3 separate regions of the Homo sapiens genome follow, and all the other regions are linked to region 1. Evidence: promoter capture Hi-C in 16 types of primary human blood cells and fetal thymus (Javierre and others, 2016). All regions are on one chromosome and are shown on one strand. The core of a region is centred on a gene start or on the middle of the fragment in contact, and the rest is flanking DNA. Distances in the headings are between cores, read along the strand shown.

Evidence for each region. Contacts are between HindIII fragments. The CHiCAGO score rates a contact against its expected background, and 5 or more counts as called.
Region 2: a fragment that was not itself captured here is called in contact with the fragment with the promoter of CD1B in region 1 in 1 of 17 cell types (fetal thymus); the score reaches 24.7 in fetal thymus.
Region 3: a fragment that was not itself captured here is called in contact with the fragment with the promoter of CD1B in region 1 in 6 of 17 cell types (total B cells, fetal thymus, M2 macrophages and 3 more); the score reaches 6.1 in total B cells.

What each region holds. Positions count from the first base shown.
Region 1 is chr1:158,329,672-158,333,108 of GRCh38, forward strand. CD1B (CD1b molecule) reads right to left here and starts at 1,860. Exons shown (of 6, transcript NM_001764.3): 1 at 1,692-1,860; 2 at 1,125-1,391; 3 at 181-459. The coding sequence starts at 1,752. The HindIII fragment of the contact is 309 bases long and covers 1,813-2,121 here.
Region 2 is chr1:159,015,803-159,019,239 of GRCh38, forward strand. It overlaps IFI16 (interferon gamma inducible protein 16), which reads left to right. Exons shown (of 12, transcript NM_001376587.1): 3 at 70-185; 4 at 731-898; 5 at 2,427-2,849. Among named protein-coding and RNA genes, the nearest start is that of IFI16, 7.6 kb to the left of the region's middle. RefSeq lists an enhancer at 1-414. The HindIII fragment of the contact is 2,618 bases long and covers 189-2,806 here.
Region 3 is chr1:158,982,774-158,986,210 of GRCh38, forward strand. It overlaps a transcript of PYHIN1 not described here. Among named protein-coding and RNA genes, the nearest start is that of PYDC5, 18 kb to the right of the region's middle. The HindIII fragment of the contact is 1,925 bases long and covers 713-2,637 here.

The DNA.
Region 1 (3,437 bases), core at 610-3,109:
AGTGTCATGTTATAACTCGAGTTCAGAGGTTATGAACTCAGAAACCTACAAGCTTGGACAGCGACCCCATTCACTCCTTTGGGAACCAAATAACTTGTTATTTAAGCTCCTATCCTTTGATATCTTCCTACTCTTGATCTTAGAGGAGGTGGTGGGAAGTGAAATAACAGCAGGACTAACCTTGTCTTTGCAGATCTGCTTTTCCTGCATTGAGGACGCCCAAGAGATATCGGGGGCAGGTTTCATAGAGGAGAATTCTCACAGTTTCCATGATACCTTGATATTGTATGATTAGTGCACAGAATTTCTGTGCCCTGCTGCCACCTTCTGGGGAAGGCACACATGAAGCATTCTTGACACTCAGGAAATCCAATCCTCCTAGAGCTCCCCTCAGGAAGCTTACTATGGCACCTCCAGAATGTAGCTCACAGCCTGCTATGCCCTGGATCTCAAAGGGGTCTATGTAGAGGGAAAAGAGAGCAAGTTATTAAACACAAATAAGAAAAAAAGGCATGAGAAAAGAACCTAGGATTTTAGATTTTGGTGGGGATAAAGTTATTTGGTGTAAAATGATGATGAGCTAAAAACTAATGATAACATTTAGACATTTTCAGAAACAAGAGCATTGAGAAAAATGTGCATGCCATGAAGACAAAGGTATGTGATAAAGGAGTACAGTGAGTATGAAAGGAGAGGTGAGGCAGAGCGTGGTGCAGTCAGGAGTGCAGCATTCCAGAGTGAGTGGAGGTTCCCAGCAAGAGGAGGGTGCGGGGAGGAGATGATTGAAAAGATGGATTAGGGGAGAAAGCCACACGTTAGATCACTCAGGCACAGGGTAGGAGAAGTAAGGGCCCTTGAGGAGAAGTTTCACATAAGACAAACCAGCAGCTGGTTACAAAGTGGAAGACAGTCTGAGAGTAAGAGAAGAGTGCAGAGGCAGCAAGAATCTGAAATATGAGGTGTGATGGTGTGAAGCTGGAGTGAGAGACTACTCAAGAAAAGCATGTGCGTGCATTTGGGTAAAATAGAAAGGAAGGGAGAAGCATCAGAGAGAGCAACACTTTGCAAAAAAGAGAGAAAAGAGAGTCCTTGAGACTCTTCCCAGTTCGGTGGACTAGACTCACATTTCATCTGGAAATCACCGGCAAAGTCTTGTACTTCTCGAGCGAATCCAAAGATGTAGACTCGGAATATCTCCTCTAACTCAGCAACCTCCTTATCACTAAAGTTACCTTTAGACCAAGGCTTCAGGAATATGGCAGTGCCTGAGTCGCTATCCCAGCCATGAATCTGCAAATCATCCAACCAGCCTGAGCCTTGAGTTTGTGCCCAGGTACTATTGGTAAAGGACGAGGTCTGGATAACATGAAAGGAGGTCGGCCCCTGGAAGGCTGTGAAGAGTGGAAAAGCAAGATGGTGAAGATAAAGAGAGAAGCAGGAGACAATTAGGAAGAATGGGAATGAAAATGATTTAGAAAACAAGAACCTAGAGTCTAAAGAACACAGGAAGTCTGACACATTTGACTGCCTTAAGGCTTCAGGTTCTAGTCCCAACCACCAGAATGGTTGAAGAGGGCGGGAGACAGAAAGACCCAGACCCTTAGTGTCCAATTGCACCTAGGAAAGCCCTGCTTGCTTTTTAAAATCCAAACCCCTGCACCAGTGCTGGGAGCTGCCAGAGTGACTCTTACCATGTTCACTGTTACCACCAGGAAAGAGAACAGCTAACAGTTGAAATGGCAGCAGCAGCATTTCACTGGGAGATGCAACTTCTTACTGGCAGAGCTGGTATTTGATCTCCAATTTCAGCAAAGCTTTTCCTCAGTACCCTGTAGTGACTTCTTCTCTCTTCCAACTGCCAAATCTCTTCCTCATCCAAACTGCTTTTCAGAGAAAAATGTGCCTCCCACAGCCCTGAGCCTCTTACCTCACCTTTTATTTCCCTCAAGCCCTGATTTTTAGAGTTTCTCTTACCCCCTGACTTCCAGCCGCTCTCCCTGTCCTCACCTTCCTTCATACCTCCTTGGAAAAGCCCCCATATGATTCTGCATTTTCATTTCTCCTTCCTTAGCCTTTATTCCCACATCTATAGGATAAGATGGTGATATTAAGCAATTGCTAAGCTTTTAGTCTGCTTTAACCCAGAAGGATGCTTTTAGTTTATCCACCTCACTTAGTTTCTCCCCCTCCCAGCTGCCTTATCTTCTCTGGCACTCTGTTACTGCCTCTTCCCAATGTTTTCAATGTCTTCTCTTTCTTATATTGCCCTCTTTGTCTGGTGTTCCTTACCCCACATTCTAAACTGGCTGTGAGTGTGTGTGTGTGTGTGTCTGTGTCTGTGTGTGTATGTGTATGTGTGTGTACCGATATTCACTTACATAAAGGCAAAGCATTTAAAACATTTCCTGTACTATAGCACTACAAACCAAAATGCCAGAATCAAATATAATAAAGACTGAAGTTTATAATTCAAACAAAATTATACTATAGCAATATTTGAGGGAAAAAATGACAATTGCTGCTAGCATGTGACCTTCTCTTCAGGAGCTCTTGGCCTATGGAGTTTTGAGTAACAAATATTCATGACATAAACAGAACTCTAGGAGCTATGCTATGTGCACCTCCAGCCTAAGTCAAAGATAACTTTTTGGGTAAGTTGCCATAAGCGGCAGAGCTTTTTTCTTCTCTTGTAATATCTCATAACTGCTGTCTACATTTGGGCATTCATATCACCACATGTGGTATTAATAATAGAGCAAAGAGGTTGCTTTTTTTTATACAAAAAGTTCAGAGATACTTGTTTTAAGATGTCACCTCCTATCTTCTTGTATGCCCATGAAAAATTTTAAGAAGAATTTTTGGATTTTCTCCATTTAGGAAAAAAATCACATATTTGCAGAGATCTATGTATCATGCAGAAATGTGGCAGCAATCGATTCCGAGTAAAGAGGGTTATCACTAACTAATTCTATTATGTGGATAAGAAAATGCAAAGTGAGTAGTGTAGTGTTCTCTATTCCTGGGGACACTACTGGTTCACAACATTAATAAGACTGGTTCACAACATTAATAAGACTAGCCTTCATCCAAGATTATTACTGCCTAATTGATAAATACAGAGCAGCTCTCCAAATTTCAATGTATGTATCTCTTAACAACATTCCCAGACTCCAATACATGACAGAATTGAATCTACTTTTTGGATAACAGCCATAGACAACAGCAGAGACTTAACATTGGCTGTCACAGACATGAACATTACTATTTTTGTGTTTATACGTTTTTTATTTTGGGTAGAACACCCAAAACAGAGCTCAGGAAAAGCTGGTAGACAACCTGGGCTATTTTCCATTAAAATAAGTGAGTTCTTGCAAGACTCCCAAAGTTGAATTGCTACAAACTAAATCTGAAATGTTCCTCATTTTAAAAAATAATCC
Region 2 (3,437 bases), core at 248-2,747, 690 kb after region 1:
CTGTCGGAGATCGTTTATATGTCTTCCTTTTTTCTGCATTGGTTGGGAATAAAATTGAATCTATTCCAGTAAAAGGACCAGCCCTATCAAGAAAGAGGAAGAAGGAAGTGGATGCTACTTCACCTGCACCCTCCACAAGCAGCACTGTCAAAACTGAAGGAGCAGAGGCAACTCCTGGAGCTCAGGTAAGCTTCAGGAAGAGGAGCAGGCTTCAAGTCCCACAGAGGAAGCTCTGCTACGGCTCTTCCACTCAATCTCTCCAGCAGGCAGTTATTTCTTCATGTTTCCCATCAAGTTTCAGATTTACCAAATTGTATGATAATTGATCATCTTATTGATGCTCAAAGCAATGCACCAAACACATGAGTAAACATAATGTAAATATATATAACATAAATGTGATACCTTCATTCTAGTAGAGTGGAGTGTCAACGTGAGAATCAGGTAAGTACTTTGTCCATGTGTATAAAAACCTAGTTTCTCTAATCCCAAGTCAGCACATCCCATAACAGAAATAATTAGAGAAATAATGTGTATAACATTCTCCTCTTTCTTCGTTTAATGAAACCATCTATGCCCATCTCTTAAACTGGCGAGAGATGGGCAGCAACCTCTCAAGTTTCCAAGAAACATCTTCTTAGGAATAATAAAACTACTATCCAATAATGAAAATGTGCTCTACTTCATTTGGCACTGAAAACGAATAACAGGAAAATCAAACCACTTTCAGAAAAGAAAAAAATCAACCAAAGAAAAGGCTGGACCCAAAGGGAGTAAGGTGTCCGAGGAACAGACTCAGCCTCCCTCTCCTGCAGGAGCCGGCATGTCCACAGCCATGGGCCGTTCCCCATCTCCCAAGACCTCATTGTCAGCTCCACCCAACAGTTCTTCAACTGAGGTACACTCTTCCTGGTCCCATTTTGCTTTGTTTTTTTCAACCCAAAGTAAAGGACTGATTTCACCGGTTACTTAAAAATTGCATCGATAATTTGCTAGTTAATCCAATGTACATATTGAGAAACCACTACATTTTGATCTTTTGCTTTCACAGGGATACTTGATGAACTTGACATTATCTCTGACTGCAGGAAGTTTTCTGTTCTGTGTTGTTTGGGGAAGGGAGAGAGAGCTATGCAGTACAGAACTGTCAGCTGTGGGCTCACTGTCTACTGCTCCCATGTCCTTCATACCTCTTCCCTTGGTTCACTATAGTATTCCATGTCAGACCTCTCCAGCACCTGCTAGTTTGTGAATGAGGTTATCCATACCCTCAGCTCTTTTTCTTGTAGATTAAACAACCTCCCCTGCATTAAAACTGTTCTATCGCAGTTTAAGGAGACTGGGATGTTAAAGAGTAAAGATGTTAAAGAAAACCCTTTCTGAGCCCCAGGTTTCTGTTAGCATGCTACCTGCTAGAGCCCTGACACTGAGAAAGGCTATGGTGGTGGGAATGACACTCTGTAGAGTTTCTGCAGCCTGAACCTACTGAGATGATGGCATTCTGAGGGGTTTATCCTACTTGTGTTCTCACCTGCTGTAAGCAAACTGAATCTTGGGTAGGAACACTATGAAATGTGCTCTTTAAATTGCCCTGTCTACACTGGTGATAACTGAACACTCTTTGTGTCTATAGTTTGTGGTGGGCACCATTTTTCATTTTTTTTTTATTTTTATTTTTTTTTAGTATTTATTGATCATTTTAAATGTCATTTAACTTTGTCTATTTTTAGGCTCTGGCACTTTAAGCTGGTAAGAGAAATAGTATAAGAAATTATTTCATTCTAAAATTTATTTATTTATTTATTGTTGTTGTTGTTGTTGTTGAGACAGAGTCTCGCTCTGTCACCCAGGCTGAAGTGCCGTGGCATAATCTCGGCTCACTGCAGCCTCCACCTCCCGGGTTCAAGTGATTCTCCTGCCTCAGCCTCCCAGGTAGCTGGGATTACAAGCGCCTGCCACTACACTCAGCTGATTTTTGTACTTTTAGTAGTGCCAGGGTTTCACCATGTTGGCCAGGCTGGTCTCAAACTCCTGATCTCAGGTGATCCACCCGCCTCGGCGTTTCAAAGTGCTGAGATTACAGGTGTGAGCCACCGCGCCTGGCCCTAAAATTTATTAAGTTACTTCATGACACTGGCTTTCAGTATCCACTGGTCTTATGTTGCTCTTATGCTTTATTTCTTAAGGTTGATTCTGTTTACAGAAAGGTCATCTTTTCACTATATGGTCTCCTCTGTTACTTCATCTTGCTATTGTACCAGTTTAAGATATCTTCTGCCCTGGCTCGCAATCCCTCTCTATCCTGACTCCAGCTCTAAACATCTGTGCAAGTTTTGGGGCCCTGTGTTATACTGAGGTCACTGAATAGCAGTTCTGTATTTCTCAATTAGACATTTTTCTTTGTTCTCCTGTGCTATCATACACAGAACCCGAAAACAGTGGCCAAATGTCAGGTAACTCCCAGAAGAAATGTTCTCCAAAAACGCCCAGTGATAGTGAAGGTACTGAGTACAACAAAGCCATTTGAATATGAGACCCCAGAAATGGAGAAAAAAATAATGTTTCATGCTACAGTGGCTACACAGACACAGTTCTTCCATGTGAAGGTTTTAAACACCAGCTTGAAGGAGAAATTCAATGGAAAGAAAATCATCATCATATCAGATTATTTGGAATATGATAGTCTCCTAGAGGTCAATGAAGAATCTACTGTATCTGAAGCTGGTCCTAACCAAACGTTTGAGGTTCCAAATAAAATCATCAACAGAGCAAAGGAAACTCTGAAGATTGATATTCTTCACAAACAAGCTTCAGGAAATATTGTATATGGGGTATTTATGCTACATAAGGTAAGTCCTCAAAATTGTTTCGTTTCATTTTTCCACCAACACCTGAAATTAAAAGTCTTGATGTGTGAGATGAAGCTTTGCCTATAAACTGGATATTAGAATCCAGGACTCTGAAGACTAATGACAGGTGGATAAAGACTTCTCTGAAGATAAGACTGGGATTAGGGGACCTGTTAATATTTCTTTCCCATGTTCTCCTTCCCAGAGCATTAAACTGTAGTCTTTACAATAATGTTCACTGAGAAACCTTAAGACTTTATCAGTTGTTATTATCTATGCTAAGTGATCAAGGACATTGTGAGGTCTACATCCATACACACATGATACTAAGTTTATCCCTTTGATTATTATCTCTACTGTCATAAAAATCACATTATTTTTATTTTGAATGAAGTATTGTCCTCTGAGGCTTGAGTTCTGGTTGTGACAGTCAGAATAAGAAATAAATTGACTACTCATGGCTGGAAAACAAATGCAGAAAGTAGGTAGGACAATGTTCTGACCAAATGAAACTAATTCATCATAAAGAAATGGAACAATTGGGAAATACGAATTTGGATGATACTTGGAAAATCAGGTAATCTAAAT
Region 3 (3,437 bases), core at 425-2,924, 650 kb after region 1:
ATGAAATGTCTTTCCATTTGTTTGTATCATCTCTAATTTCTTTTAGCAGCATTTTGTAACTCTTGTTGTAGAAATCTTTTACCTCCCAGGTTAGCTGTATTCCTATGTGTTTATTCTTTGTGTGGCTATTGTGAAAGGAACTATGTTCTTGGTTTGGCTTTCAGCTTGGGTATTATTAGTTGTATAGAAATGCTACTAATTTTTGTACATTGATTTTGTATCCTGAGACTTTGCTGAAGTTGTTTATAATTTCTGGGAAATTTGGGGCAAAGGCTATGGGGTTTTCTGGGTATAGAATCATATTACCTGCAAAAGGAGGTAGTTTGACTTCCTTTCTTTCTATTTGGACGTCTTTTATTTTTTTTTCTCTTGCCTGACTGCTCTGGCTAGAACTTCCAGTGCTATGTTGAACCAGGAGTAGTGAGAGTAGGCAACTTTGTCTTGTTCTGGTTCTCAAGAGGTATGATTTCAGCTTTTGCCTATTTGTGATATGATGTTGGCTGTGGTTTTGTCATAGATGTCTCATTTTGAGGTATGTTCCTTTGATACCTAGTTTGTTGAGGGTTTTTAACATGAAAGAATGTTGAATTTATTGAAACCTTTTCTGCATCTATTTAGATAATCACGTGATTTTTGTTTTTAGTTCTGTTTATGTGATAAATCACATTTACCAATTTGCGTATGTTGAACCAACTTTGCATTCCAGGGGTAAAGCTTACTTGATCATGGTGGCTTAGCTTTTGCTGTGCTGCTGGATTTAGTTTGCTAGTATTTTTTTTTGAGGACTTTTGCATCAATATTTATCAGGCATATTGTCCTGAATTTGTTTTTCCTTTGTGTTTCTGTCAGGTTTTGGTATCAGAATAATGCTGACCTCATAGAATGATTCAGGGCAGAGTCTCCGCTCCTCAATATTTTGGAATAATTTTGGTAGGATTGGTATCAGCTCCTCCTTATCTATCAGGTAGAATTCAGATGTGAATCTGTCTGATCCATGGCTTTTGTTGGTTTGTAGGTATTTTATTATGGATTCAATTTCAGAACTTGTTATTGATCTGTTTAGGTATTCAATGTCTTCCTGGTTCAATCTTGGCAGGTTGTATGTTTTCAGGAATTTATCTGTTTCTTCTAGATTTTCTAGTTTTTCAGCATAGAAATTGTTCATAATGGTCTTTGAGAGTTTTTGTATTTCTGTGGGTTCCATGGTAATGTCCCCTTTGTCATTTCTAATTGTATTTATTTGGATCTTCTCCTGTTTTTTTTTTTTTTTTTGTATATTAATCTGGCTAGTGGTCTATATATCTTATTCTTTCAAAAAACCAATTTTTAGTTTTCTTAATTATTTTTGTGAATTTTCACATCTCAATTTTATTTGGTTCAACTTAGATTTTGATTATTATTTTTCTTCTGCTAGTTTGGGGGTTGGTTTCCTTTTGTTTTTTCTAGTTCCTGTAAATGTGATGTTAGGTATAAATTTAAGATATTTCTGACTTTTTGATGTAGGCCTTTAGTGCTATAAACTTTTCTCTTAACACTGCTTTAGCTGTGTCCCAGAGACTCTGATATATTGTATTTTTGTTTTCATTAGTTTCAAAGATTTCTTGATTTCTGCATTAATTTAATTTATTACCCAAAAGTCATTCAGGAGTAAGTTGTTTAATTTCCAAATACTTCTATGATTTTCAGAGATCTTCTTGGTATTGATTTGTATTTTTGTTGCACTGTGATCTGAGAGTGTGGTTGATATAATTTCTGTTTTTTGAATTTCCTGAGCATTGCTTTATGGCCAAGCATGTGGCCAAGCATGTGGCACAGAGTATGTGCCATGTGCAGATGAGAAGAATGTATATTCTGTTGTTGAGTGGAATGTTCCTTATATGTCTGTTAGGTCAATTTAGTCAAGTGTGAAATTTTGTTCCTGAATATCTTTGTTAGTTTTCTCCCTCAATGATTTATCTAACAATGTTAGTAGGGTGTTGTATTCTCCCACTATTATTGTGAGGTTAGCTAGTTCTCTTCATAGGTCTCTAAGAACTTGTTTTATGAATCTGGTTGTGCCAGTGCTGAATGCACACATCTTTAGGATAGTTAAGTCTTGTTTGTAGAATTGAACTTTTTATCATTATGTGATGCCCTTCTTCATCCTCTTTGATAGCTTTTGGTTTAAGGTCTGTTTTTTTTTTCCTGAAATAAAAGAGCAACCCCTGCTCTATTTTGTTTGTTTTCCATTTGCTTTATAGATATTCCTCCATCCATTTAATTTAAGCCTGTGTCTTTACATGTAAGGTGGGTCTCTTGAAGACAGCATGTAATTGAGTCTTGCTTCTTTATCCAACTTACCATTCTGTGCCTTTTAAGTGGAGTGGTTAGCCTGCTTATGTTCAAGGTTAATATTGATATGTAAGGATTTGATCCTGTCATAGTGTTATTAGCTGGTTGTTATGTAGACTTGATTGTATAGTTGCATATTGTGTCAGTGGAATATTTACTTAAGTGTGTTGTTTTGTGGCAGGTAGCAGCCTTTTGTTTCCATGTTCAGCACTCCCTGAAGGACCTCTTATAAGGCAGGCCTAATGGTAACAAATTCGCTTAGTGTTTGTTTGTCTGAAAAGGATTATGTTTCTTTTTCACTTACAAAGCTTGGTTCGGCTGGATATGAAATCATGGTTAGAATTTCTTTTGTTTAAGAATGCTGAATGTAGGCCTTTAATCTTTTCTGGCTTGAAAAATTTCTGCTGAAAGGTCCACTGTTAGTGTGATAAGGGTTCCCTTTGTACATGATCTGCCTCTTCTCTTTTGCTGCCTTTCATATGTTTTATTTACCTTGATCTTGGAGAATTGGATAACTATGTGTCTTAGGGATTGTCATCTTGTGTAATATCTTGCTGGGGTACTCTGAATTTCCTGAATTTACATGTCAACCTCTCTAGCAAGGTCAGGTAAATTTTCAGGGACAATATCTTCAAATATGTTCTCCAAGTTGCTTGGTCTCTCTCCCTCTCTTTCTGTGATGCAAATCAGTTGTAGGTTTGGTCTCTTTACATAAACTCATATTTCTTGAAGTTTCGTTCATATTTTATTATTTTTTCCTTTATTTTTATCTGACTGAGTTGATTTGAAGAACTGATCTTCAAGCTCTGAGATTTCTTTCCTCAGCTTTCCTCAGCTTCTGCTGTTAGTACTTCCAATTATATTATGAAATTTTTGTAGTGAGTTTTCAGCTCTAGTAGGTTAGTTTGGTTCTTTCTTAAAATGGCTATTTTATCTTTAAGCTTTTGTATTATTTTATTGGATTTCTTAGATTCCTTTGATTGGGTTTCTGCTTTCTCCTATATTTCAAGAATCTTCATTGCCATCTAGACTTTGCTGGGTAGGTAGCATGGTAGTTTGGAGGTAAGACACTCTGGTTTCTACAGTGCCAGAGTTCTTGCACTGGT